Linked DNA regions of Homo sapiens: regions 2 and 3 are each linked to region 1. The links are contacts of gene promoters, found by promoter capture Hi-C in blood cells and fetal thymus (Javierre and others, 2016). All regions are on one chromosome and are shown on one strand. Each heading gives the region's core, a stretch centred on a gene start or on the middle of the fragment in contact. The rest is flanking DNA. Distances are from core to core; before and after follow the strand shown. Region 1 holds the start of HOXA1 (homeobox A1). Region 2 overlaps NFE2L3 (NFE2 like bZIP transcription factor 3). Region 3 overlaps SNX10-AS1 (SNX10 antisense RNA 1).

Region 1 (4,021 bases), core at 791-3,290:
CCAGTCGGAGGATTCCCAGGAGCCGAAACTGGGGCAGGGGTGGCTGCCCAACCCCAGAAAGTGGGCCTTTCCTGCCCGTGCTCCCTCTTAACCATGCTTGGGATGGATCAAAGTCACAAATACTATTCTGAAAGGAAATGTTTGGGGAGAATGTTTCATTGTTACTGAGGGAGTCCAGAGTCAGCATGGGTTTTTTCTCTTGAGAGGACAGGTTTGGGGGAACTTCGGTACGTGGAGAACAGAATACAGAAGACTGAAAGGGTGACTAACATATTTGAAATGTACCTTCCTTGAAAAAAAAAAAACCTTCCTTGTTCTAACGGGAGGAAAGGCTGAAGAGGAGTGGAAACCCCAAACCCACATACATTCATTCACTATAAATTTCATCTGATTCCAACATTGTACACATGGTTGGAGTAAAATTTATACAGCATTGCTTATAATTTATACAGCAAAGCTTCCTGGACAAGCTCTCGATTTCTCCTACCCAAGACTGCATCAATTCTTGGTCTCCGTTTGGCTTTTTCTCTCTACAAGCCCAGGGTTGACGTGAAACCTAATAGTAAACAACAATTTAACGACCTCAGCAGCCTCAGGGAAGTAGGGTGATGAGGAACAGGACCCCTGGCCTGGGATGAGGCTCAGATTTGCATGTGTCTCTCTAGGGAAGGACTTGAAGGTTCTCATAAGCAACTACACAGCCAGTTGGAAAGGGGAGGAGGTGTCGTTGGGGTAAAGTGTCCCGTCCACCATCAGCCATTTGTCCACCGCCCCTCCCACCTGCCAGCCCCCACACCCACTCTAGACGTGCAGCAGAATGAGGAAGGTTATAAAAGGAAGCTCTCTCTCTCTTCTAACATTCCCCTCCAGAAAAAGAGGAACGCAACGAAGGGAGTTCAGCTACTATGTTGGAGCTGTGGACCGGCCCTGTGAGGCCCACGCGGGAGCGCGGAGGCTCCTGGGTCTCAGGGCGCCGGCAGATGGCCTGCAGCGCACCGCCCGGCCCCCGCGCTGGCCACGTCCGCCAGCGTCATCTCTCTCCCCCGCCTCCTACCCCTAAAAATCCGGCGGTCGAGTAGCTCCGCATCCCGGAGGGCTCCCGGTGCAAAACTGAGTGGGAAAGAGAAAGGGGCGGAGAGCGACGAGAGAGGGAAGGTGGGGAAGAAGAGCCCGGCCGCCCCCGGCCTTTTCCGGCGAGCTCTGAGTTTCCAGGGCTCATCCGCCCCTCCAAGTCGAATTACAGAAACTCCTCATTGCCATGCTAATGACGAGAGGGGCTGTGGGGAGAGGGTTTCGAAGACCCTCCTGGAAGAAGGGAAGTTTCTTTTCTTGCCCTCGTCTCCTTCACGCCCACCCGAGTTCCTCCCAGCCAGCCCTCTGCGCTCTTCCCCCTCCATTCCGAGCTTGAAGAGCCGGTGGCCCAGCCTCGCCCTCCACCACGGTTCTATGCGCTCCTCACAGCCCCACGGTCTCCCAGCCCAGCCTCAGAACAGAGGAGGTGGCCTGGGAACCCGGGGCGCGGTGTCAGCCGGATTCCCCGCCTTCCGGCTGGGCGCGCTGCGGGCTGGGCCGGCGTACTTGCGGCCACCCGGCGAGCTCTGGCCCACTGATTCCCGCCCCGAGAGAGCCGGGAGCCCTCTTCCCTTCTCACCTCTCGCCAGTTCATCTTTCATTGAACGGTGGGGAGGGGGCGGGAGCGGGGGACGCCTCCCAGCCCCCACCTCCCGGAGGCCTGGCGGGGCGGGCAGCGGAGTCGGGCGCGCGCAGAACGCAGCTTTTGCTCTTCTTCGCTCCAGCACTCCAAATCGGCCTTTGCAGTCGCCGCAGCAGCTGCCGCCGCCTAGGCTGCCTGGGGGGGCGACTGCGCGTCACCTAGACGGCGGAGCGCCGGGGATTTAAATGCCACTAAAACGGTGATCCATCACTGCGGAAGCCGGCAAACTTTTGCAGGAGGCTCAGCCATTGGCTGACACCGTCACGTGCCCCTCCTCCAGCGTCCTCCGCCCTCCCGCCCCCCCTCTTGCGCACTGTACATTCATATCATTTTTCTTCTCCGGCCCCATGGAGGAAGTGAGAAAGTTGGCACAGTCACGCCGGGCTTCGCAGGACCAGGTCACTCAGTGACAGATGGACAATGCAAGAATGAACTCCTTCCTGGAATACCCCATACTTAGCAGTGGCGACTCGGGGACCTGCTCAGCCCGAGCCTACCCCTCGGACCATAGGATTACAACTTTCCAGTCGTGCGCGGTCAGCGCCAACAGTTGCGGCGGCGACGACCGCTTCCTAGTGGGCAGGGGGGTGCAGATCGGTTCGCCCCACCACCACCACCACCACCACCATCGCCACCCCCAGCCGGCTACCTACCAGACTTCCGGGAACCTGGGGGTGTCCTACTCCCACTCAAGTTGTGGTCCAAGCTATGGCTCACAGAACTTCAGTGCGCCTTACAGCCCCTACGCGTTAAATCAGGAAGCAGACGTAAGTGGTGGGTACCCCCAGTGCGCTCCCGCTGTTTACTCTGGAAATCTCTCATCTCCCATGGTCCAGCATCACCACCACCACCAGGGTTATGCTGGGGGCGCGGTGGGCTCGCCTCAATACATTCACCACTCATATGGACAGGAGCACCAGAGCCTGGCCCTGGCTACGTATAATAACTCCTTGTCCCCTCTCCACGCCAGCCACCAAGAAGCCTGTCGCTCCCCCGCATCGGAGACATCTTCTCCAGCGCAGACTTTTGACTGGATGAAAGTCAAAAGAAACCCTCCCAAAACAGGTCAGTCCTGCTGGTTGGTGGATGCTCCTTGATTATTCTGGAAGGAGCTGGTATGCTTAATTTCCAAGGAAATTAATAATGATCTTTTTTTTAAAAGGCTTTTGTATCAGACTAGTGTTGTAGTGCATGGAGAGGGTGCCCAGAGGTGTTGGGGCAAAGAAGTCTCAGGGATTGGTGTGTTTTCAAGGATTTTATACATTTGGGAAATAGGAAGTATGTGGGGGTGGTTATTGTGACGGTAGTGTTCTGTTAATATCTTGAGGCTCCATTAATCACCGGTCTGACCATGCTAATGGTTTACATCAGGTTAACACTTTACACCTCATCACTCACCCTCCACAGCCCGATTTGTGCTGAGTTCTTGATCTTTTCTTTACCTGAGTGTTGCCATGAAGCGTGTGGGGAATCTCAAGTCGATTTAAAAATTTTTACATTTCCGTCTCATGGCTTCCCACTTTGCCCCAGGGAAAGTTGGAGAGTACGGCTACCTGGGTCAACCCAACGCGGTGCGCACCAACTTCACTACCAAGCAGCTCACGGAACTGGAGAAGGAGTTCCACTTCAACAAGTACCTGACGCGCGCCCGCAGGGTGGAGATCGCTGCATCCCTGCAGCTCAACGAGACCCAAGTGAAGATCTGGTTCCAGAACCGCCGAATGAAGCAAAAGAAACGTGAGAAGGAGGGTCTCTTGCCCATCTCTCCGGCCACCCCGCCAGGAAACGACGAGAAGGCCGAGGAATCCTCAGAGAAGTCCAGCTCTTCGCCCTGCGTTCCTTCCCCGGGGTCTTCTACCTCAGACACTCTGACTACCTCCCACTGAGGCGGCTCCAGCCCCAGACAACAGCCCAGGCATCTCCTTGGGCTGGGACTTCTTACCCAAAGCACATGCTTAGCTTATCTTTCTTTCCATTTACAGTCTCTTTCTTCCTTTCTAATCCTATCTGGGGAGCTCCTGGCCAGGATAATATATTTGCAGATAATTCTGGACCAGAGACTTGGTGCGGGGTTAACACCTTCATCCAGATTGGGTGCCAGCATACATTTTCTGGTGGGCCTTAACATCCCTCCTGCTTTTAGGAGAATTCACAGAACCTACTGTTCCTTTCAGATGACCTTTTGGAAAATAGTTCCCTTTGCCAACAGAAACATGCCAGAAGGAATCTTCTCATCTTTTATCTAACTATATGTACAGCTCTCCCCTCCCTTGTCCTTGAAAGTAGGATATAGCGAAAGGCGAGTCC
Region 2 (4,021 bases), core at 788-3,287, 940 kb after region 1:
GTAGCTGGGACTACAGGCACGTGCCACCGTGCCCGGCTAATTTTTAGTATTTTTAGTAGAGACGGGGTTTCACCGTGTTGGCTAGGATGGTCTCGATGTCTTGATCTCGTAATCCTCCTGCCTCGGCCTCCCAAAGTGTTGGGATTACAGGTGTGAGCCACCACACCCGGCCCAGCCCAACAGTTTCTTCAGGCAGTTAATCAAGAGGTCTTACCAGACCCCTCACCCAGCAGAGGGTCTCTGTACCAGGATAGGAAACCACATCAAAATGACTACAAGCCCTCTCAGTTTCAAAGTGGCAACAGCTCTCTGAAATACTGAAGCTGGCTGTAGGCAGCTGTTCCATACGTTTACACATTCAATTCTACAAAAACTGTTCATTTCTTTGTTTAACCTGTGTGTTACTTGGAAGAATGCATGCTTCATCCGTTGTGAATGACTGTGGTTATGAAGGGAAGCGTGTCAGCCCTGGGGAATTCCAGAGTCAGTTTTCAGATCATGATAAGCCCCAGTAAGAAGTGAAACCAAAACAGTACTCCTTTTGATACTTGGAAAATCCCCTACTCCAAAATATTTTTGCATATGTACATAAATTATGGAAAATTATACTATAAAACTCCTGCAACTCAAATGTAAGCCACCGGAATTATCTATTTTTTAAAATTAAAAATTATGTTCCTATGGGACAAAGCACTTCGTCTCTTTGAAGTTAACAGTAGCTAACATTTACTAACTAAGCACTTAAGTGACAGGCAAGTTCTAAGCCCTTTACATGGAATGAACTTTTTAATTCTCACATCAACCCTCTGAGGTAAGCCCCTTCTGATTCCCATTGTGCATGGGAATGCACACAGAATGAAGCACAGAAAGGATAAGCAACTTGTCCAAGGTCACAGACGTGGTAGAGCTGGGATTCAAAACCAGGCAGTCTGGGTCTAGCATACCCCACTTCTTCAATAACCAACCAAACTAGATATGCAGACAAGCCAAAAGGAATCCAGTGAGTGGGGACAGGTGAAGGAGGGTGGGTTAAGGACGGAGGGCAGAAGAGCGCAGCTACAATCCAGGCACCATGCTGCTCTTCCCATGGGCTTTTCCCACTTAATCAGCACACCTCCCCCTGGAGTACACATTCCTCTCCCACTTGACATGAGACACTGAAGCTTGGAGTGATTCAAGCAGCTTATGGGAGGGCATACTAGCAGGTGATACTCCCAAACCCAGGTCTAGCTGACCGCAAAGACCAGTGTTGTTTTTCCAGCCCATTTTCTCCCCAAAGTCATGGTTCCAAATTGCAACCTCTTCATTATGAATGGCACAATCTAGCACTGGAGAGTGATTAGCCTGGGCAGTGGAAGGCTGAGTCACCCCATCCCAGATGCACTGAGACGTCCTAGATGTCCCAAGAGCTTGAGTACCGTGTAGGTACTTAATTAATGTGCCAGTCTGAGAGTCAAGAGACTCAGGCTCTGGTCTCTCTTTTGGCACTGACATGTGGCTTTAGCCAAATCCCTAACCTAGGCTTCTAGTTTTCTTCTTCTTCTTCATTTTTTTTCTTTTTGAGACAGAGTCTCACTCTGTCACCCAGGCTGGAGTTCAGTGGCACAATCTCGGCTCACTGCAACCTCCGCCGCCCAGATTCAAGTGATTCTCGTGCCTCAGCCTCCCGAGTAGCTGGGACTACGGGCATGTGTAATCACGCCCAAGTAATTTTTGTATTTTTAGTAAAGATGGGGTTCACCATGTTGCCCAGTCTGGTCTCGAACTCCTGACCTCAAGTGATCTGCCTGCCTCAGCCTCCCAAAGTGCTGGGATAACAGGTGTGAGCCACCGCACTCAGCCCTATTTTTCTTAAGTACAAATTGTATATAAGGGTGCCTGGCCAGTGCACCACACAAGGTTGATGTAAAAGGCAACAAAAGTGAACTGGCCGTGACAACTGTAAGGAGCTGGACAGCTGATTTTTGCCAGATTGAATGTAACCAGGTCATCCCAGCAGTGAACATGGTGCACACATGCCAGCCCAGCCAGGAAGGCACTGCCAGGAGAATGGTTCTCGGGGAACTTCACTCTCTCCCCTAGGAAAGCTGGATTCAGAGCCTCCACAGTGGTTTGGCTGGCCTAGGCTCAAAAAATGCCTCCAAGGCAGGCCTGCCAGTCTAGGCCACCCATGGTGGCTCATGCCTGTAAACCCAGCACTTTGGGAGGCTGAGATGGGATGGGTACTTGAGCCAAGGAGTTCGAGACCAGCCTAGGCAACATAGCGAGACCTGTCTCTACAAAAAATCAGCCAGTATGGTGGTGCACGCCAGTTCTCCTAGCTACCTGGGAGACTGAAGTGGAAGGATTGCTGGAGCCGGGGAGGTTGAGGCTGCAGTGAGTCGTCATTGCACCTTTGCACTCCAGCCTGGGCAACAGAGCAAGACCCTGTCTTTAAAACAAAACAAACAAAAAAACAGCCAAGGGAAGGCCACTTTGTCTCCCAGGTGATGCCGGGAGGGAAGTTTCCGAGGACTGAACAGCTTCCTCTCTTCTCCCTCCAGGTCCCTGTGCACTTTGCACACAGGTTGGCATTCGGGTGTGGGTGGCAGAGTGCCATCTGGTACAGCATCCAGCACTAGGTTTCAACTCTGTGTTACAGAACCAGGAATGGTGGTAGTGCACAAGTACTCACTTATTAGAGGGCAGAGCATTTAGGTGAGACAGACCCCATGGGGTCCAGATTGGATGAGTGAGTGGGGAAGAACCTCCCACAGTATATCCTGAACACAGAAGGATCCCTCCAAGACTCTCACTGGCCCCCACCCCATTGGTTCCGGTCCCCAGGAAGAGGAAGGGCTCAGATCAGCATAACAGTGAATCACCGAGCACTTCCACACAATGACCCCTCCAGGAGGGTGGAGAAGCTTGTCTGGCAACAGCCTACACAAACGGCAATTCTGAAGAGCAACAAACAAACCAGTTTAGCCCCAATTCCCATTTTGCATAAGAATGCGCCCCACAAAAACAACACCCGAAGAACATTAGTTGATCACCACTGGTTGATCGTTACCAGTTGCAAACACTAAAGTTTGAGCCAAGACAGAATTTTAAAAGTCCCCTGGAAGGAACTTTGGGTAAAGTGGTTTTGTGGAAACTGGTGTTAAAGTGTCATTAGACTGAACTCAAACGTTCCATGGGGAGCACCAGATGTTTCAAGCAACAGATCTTGGTAAACTTGGTTTCAGAAAGAAGTTAAGCCAGAGAAGGGTTTGGACCCATAAACCAAAGGGAACTTGTTAGTCACTAAGTGACTGCCAAGGTACCTGTTTTCGTTATGCTAATAAGAGGTTACACAAATTCCAGGAAGGAGGATTGCTAGGTGCAGGGGATGGTTAGGTCACAGGGGGACCGCCTGCCGGCTGGCCTCTGAATAGACCCTGACCATGGCTCCTTAATCCAGGGAAGCAGCAAAAACGAACAGCAATTGGGCTGAAAACAGGGCGAAGGTCCTTGCGTTAGGCCGGGAGAGTCGTTCTTAAAAACATGCATCCTCCCAGAGGTCACGGCCTCCTTCACATCGTCCAGGTCGGGCACGGGTCCCAGAGAACGACACCCCAGTGTACATGAGGTACTGAGCGAAGACAGTGGGCATTGCTTCTCCCCTCCCCATCCCCGAACTACTCTTGCCAGCCATCACACACAAGGAAAGGTATTCTCTATAACCAAACGGATGATTTCGTCCACTTCTTCCTTAAACACCTAAAAACCACAGCGACAGCACTAGTAGCCCTTCATTCGGAATCAGAGCAGCAGCATCTGCGAACCTGCAAAGACCAGGGGCTAAGGGTGCCAGGACACAGCGAGAGTGGCCCCTGCTCAGATCCGACACAAGCCTCGGGGGCTCCCGGCGGCGTAGACGCCGCACTTCGCTCGCTTCCCGCTCTGCACCTACCTCGCTCGCACATCCGCCAGCGTCCGGCACCTGAGCCGTCGGTTCCGCGGGTGCCTTCTCCTCTTCCCCGGCGTCCAAGGGGCCACT
Region 3 (4,021 bases), core at 460-2,959, 700 kb after region 1:
TCGAGGAGAGGAGCTAGGTCACTTTTATTAATAGCAACAACGACAGTAGTAAACATATGCTGAGGACTATTCTACGCAAGGTACTATGCCAACTGCTTTACCTACATGTTTATCACAGCGATCTTATTGCACTCCTGGAAACCCAGGCTTAGCAAAGCCTTGAAAGGTTCCCAGCATAACCCAGCTAAGGTGGGAGGGAGCACAGGTGAGAACCCAGGCCCCTCTACACTCTCAATCACTCTGCAGTATTTTCCGGGTCCTTCTTACAGCTCACACAACTGTCCAGCACTCCTTTGTCCCCCGAACGCATCACCCCCAGCCATCTTAGGCCGGGCCAGCCCCCCGCCCCCACCCTCACCCCCTCCCTCACCCCCTCCCTCACCCCCTCCCTCACCCCCTCCCTCTCCTTGGCCCAGAAGTAAATCCTAAGTAGTCTAAATCCGTTATGACCAACCCCTTCCCTTGCCCAGGCACTGGCTTAGAAAAGAGCATGTGACCAGTCCTGGCCAAGGCCAAGCCAGGGGACATCTGTTGGGGTTTTCTGGGAAATGCTTCCTTGCCCTAAAAAAAGACACCTCTAGCGATTCCAGTTTCTTCTGTTGTAGAATGTATATCCACCACCTGGCAACCACGGAGGAGCCAGGGAACAAAGTTAGTCTTTGCAGAGATTTACAGGATTAAGTGAGCTAACTCCAGGGTTAAAGTTTAGGAGAATCATGTTTTAGTCCTATCTCTACCTGCGATGGAGTCATGCTGCCTCGTGTTTATTCAGGGACATATTTAAAGTTAACTCCTTTTTGAAACGAGACAAGATAAAAAGATGTAAACAAAGGAAAACTCCAGAAATTTGGTCTTGTCTCCATTAAAGAGTGTCTGTTTCTAGGCACTTCAGTGGAACCTCTCACTTCCAGCTTCTCTTCCTGGGCACTCACCTCTAACTCATTCAGCTTTTTTCCCTCAAAGTAGCTCTTTGCCTACACAGGCAAGGCATCTCTTCCCTCCAGGAACATCAGAACCCCCCTTCTAACCCTCCTGCACCCACACACCCAGGCGTCTGAGCTTGACTGCCTTTGAAATGTTTACTGGCCTTCAAGTAGTCTCTTTGAAGAATTTGCATCTAATTTTGAACTTAGGGAAAATCGGGCATAACCAGTCACTTACTAGTTTCCTTGGCAACTACTTTAAAACAGAATCTAAATTGGAATGAAAATGGATTTTTATGGTTTCACTAAAATCATACACACTTTTCATGAAAATATACCAAAAAAACTATAAAAAATATATACATACTATATGCTTTATTCGTTTATCTGGAATCAATACACAGTAACTAACTCAAATATCTCTGTTCCCCACTGCTGAGGAAAGGCACTCCACACTCCCTTAGCAAGACATTTAAGACCCTCCACAATCTGCACCTAACCCAGCTCCAGCCTTATTTGTCTACTACAGTACATCCCCAAATCATGCTATTGCATTTCCTCTCCCATGACATTCTCTAGAATGCCCTTGAACTTCATGTCCAACTGTTCAAATATCACCGATCTTTCCAAGTCCAGATTAAATATCACCTCTTCCAAGAAGCTTTTCCCATTCCTCACATATAATGACACAAATTGAGTTACTTAGTGTTTATTTTCAGCAATATTTAGCATATTTTATTTACTGATACCCAGTATTGTTAAAATAATGCACATTTCCTAACAGTTGGGGGGCTTCAATATTACCATGCAAACAATTAAAATGAGTAATAAATATTATCAGCAGAATTGTATAAATCTTACTCCCAACTTAAGGCTGAGCTGTTCTGTCAGATGTGATAAAATAAAGCTTCATACGCTGCTTGTTTTTCTTAGGATAACTTTGATTTCAGTAATAGAAAACCTGTCTGTAGTAGCTTTAAAAATGAAGAAAATGTAGTATCTCATGTAGGAAGTACCAAGGTAGCAGATGCTAAGTTTGGTTAATTTAGTGGGTCAAAAATGTTTAATGTTGTCAAGTTTTTCTCGTCTTTCTGAAATTCTGCCATCCTCAGCTTGCTGACCTTGTCCTTAGCTAGTTCTCCTCAAGGTCTCAAAATGGCTGCCATAGTTCCAGGCATCACTTTAAGACATGGCAAAGGCCAGCCAAAAAAGTTGACTGTTCTCAAATTTTTTAAGAGTGGAGAAATTATACCAAAGATCCCTCAGATCTTTTCTCATTGGCCAGAACCAGGGCACGTGACTATCTCTAAACTACCACTGGCAAGAGAGGCAAGATTATCAGAATTGATAACTAATCAGGATTTAGTCTTGAATTATTTTGAGGGTAAGGGGAGCGGTGCAGGAGAGCAGGGAATTGACAGGACAGGCAATGCCAAAACAAAAGCTGAATTTTAGTCCGTTTCCCAGTCATCAATTTCTGCAGCCAAACTATCCCAAAGCTTAGTGGCTTAGAAACTTTTTTATTTTTTCTCTAGAATCTGGACAGGGCAGCTCCCAAGGAATAAGGAATAAGGGAGGATGGCTATTGAGTAGGCACTAAAAGTATCAGCAACTTTTCTTTTCTTTCTTTTTTTTTTTTTTTTTTTGAGATGGAGTCTTACTCTGTTGCCCAGGCCAAGCTGGAGTGCAGTGGCACCATCTCAGCTCACTGGAACCTCTGCTTCCCTGGTTCAAGGAATTCTCCTGCCTCGGCCTCCCAAGTAGCTGGGATTAAAGGCGCATGCCACCACGCCTGGCTAATTTTTGTATTTCTAGTAGACACGGGGTTTCACCATGTTGCCCAGGCTGGTCTCAAACACCCAACCTCAGGTGATCCTCCCACCTCGGCCTCCCAAAGTCCTGGGATTACAGGCGTGAGCCACCACGCCTGGCCAGTATCAGCGACTTATGATGGCTTTTTATTTGAAGATCAAAACCAATCACACTTTGATTATTCTTATATTGGTTCTTTCTACCAAAAAATAGTGTTTGAAAAAATGGTATATATTGATTTAGTCGATAGCAAACTGCTTGGCTGAATCCAATTGATATTTTCTTAGGGTGCAGTAAAATATTTGCTCTTTTGCTTTGCTTTCTCCCCACTAAATAACTAGCCATATTATGGATCCCACATAGGATTTTTCCTTTAACAATATGAATTCTTGACTGAATTAAGCCATTTTTGCCCTAAGTTCTTTAGTTTGTAGACATCTGAGAATTAAGTCAGGAGAATAGCAAATAATTATTTTAATTTAGCAAATAATGTAATAACTGGATTATTCACCATCAGAATATTCCTCTTTGAAAACGTGTAAATCATAGAAATGTTTGAAGATAAAATTATTAGTCATTCCCCTCTCGAAGGCAGATAGGAAAATTGTAACATGTAGTCTTTGTTTTGTAATGTCACTTCATTATCCTAAATAGGCCTTCTAGTTCTCTTTTAATTTATATATATTATAAATAATATTTTTATATATTTTATATATTTATATTATATAAAAATTATATAATATAAATAATATATATTATTTATAATATATTATATATATTTAAATATGTATAATATATATTTAAATTATATATATATATATATATGAGGTAAGAAAGTTCTTAAGTAGTGGCTAAGTCATGTCATTTATCTGGAGTCAATACACGGTAACTAACTCGAACGTCTCTGGTCCCCGCTGCTGAGGAAAGGCAGCCCACACTCCCTTAGTAAGACATTTTTAGTCATGTCATTTACTAAAATACCACATGGACTTCCTTTTGTCATCGTATCTTCCATCTTCTAATAAATGTATAAGTGTCTCTAGAACAATACCTGGTCAGATGATGAATGTTCGTACCATCATACTCTCCCTTTCTTTTCAAGACACTCATGGAACTGCTTGCACAAAATCTGATGTATTCCAATACCATCTCTGTGAATCATAGACCTTTAAAGCCAGAATGACAGTCCTCTAATTTGATAGGTGAAGAAACTAAGGCCCTAGAATTTAGAGAATTTTCTGGAAGTTACCAGACTAGTTAGTGACACAGTGGGATCTCATTATCTT

Evidence for each region. The method cuts DNA at HindIII sites, captures the fragments that hold promoters and counts their contacts. A CHiCAGO score of 5 or more calls a contact.
Region 2: a contact is called between a fragment that was not itself captured here and the fragment with the promoter of HOXA1 in region 1, in 1 of 17 cell types (endothelial precursors). The highest score is 6.6, in endothelial precursors.
Region 3: a contact is called between a fragment that was not itself captured here and the fragment with the promoter of HOXA1 in region 1, in 1 of 17 cell types (M1 macrophages). The highest score is 5.1, in M1 macrophages.

Annotation. Positions count from the first base shown.
Region 1 is chr7:27,094,019-27,098,039 of GRCh38, reverse strand. It overlaps HOXA1 (homeobox A1), which reads left to right and starts at 2,040. Exons shown (of 2, transcript NM_005522.5): 1 at 2,040-2,779; 2 at 3,245-4,021. The coding sequence starts at 2,128. The coding sequence ends at 3,600. HOTAIRM1 (HOXA transcript antisense RNA, myeloid-specific 1) reads right to left here and starts at 1,946. Exons shown (of 2, transcript NR_038367.1): 1 at 1,652-1,946. RefSeq lists enhancers at 1,078-1,650, 1,776-2,070, 2,952-3,452, 3,453-3,953 and a silencer at 1,554-1,723. The HindIII fragment of the contact is 6,567 bases long and covers 460-4,021 here.
Region 2 is chr7:26,152,982-26,157,002 of GRCh38, reverse strand. NFE2L3 (NFE2 like bZIP transcription factor 3) reads right to left here. Exons shown (of 4, transcript NM_004289.7): 1 at 3,935-4,021. Among named protein-coding and RNA genes, the nearest start is that of NFE2L3, 2.8 kb to the right of the region's middle. RefSeq lists enhancers at 3,717-3,906, 3,257-4,021. The HindIII fragment of the contact is 1,743 bases long and covers 1,166-2,908 here.
Region 3 is chr7:26,393,994-26,398,014 of GRCh38, reverse strand. All of the region lies in intron 1 of SNX10-AS1 (SNX10 antisense RNA 1), which reads left to right. Among named protein-coding and RNA genes, the nearest start is that of LINC02981, 2.6 kb to the left of the region's middle. RefSeq lists enhancers at 40-279, 1-310. The HindIII fragment of the contact is 246 bases long and covers 1,587-1,832 here.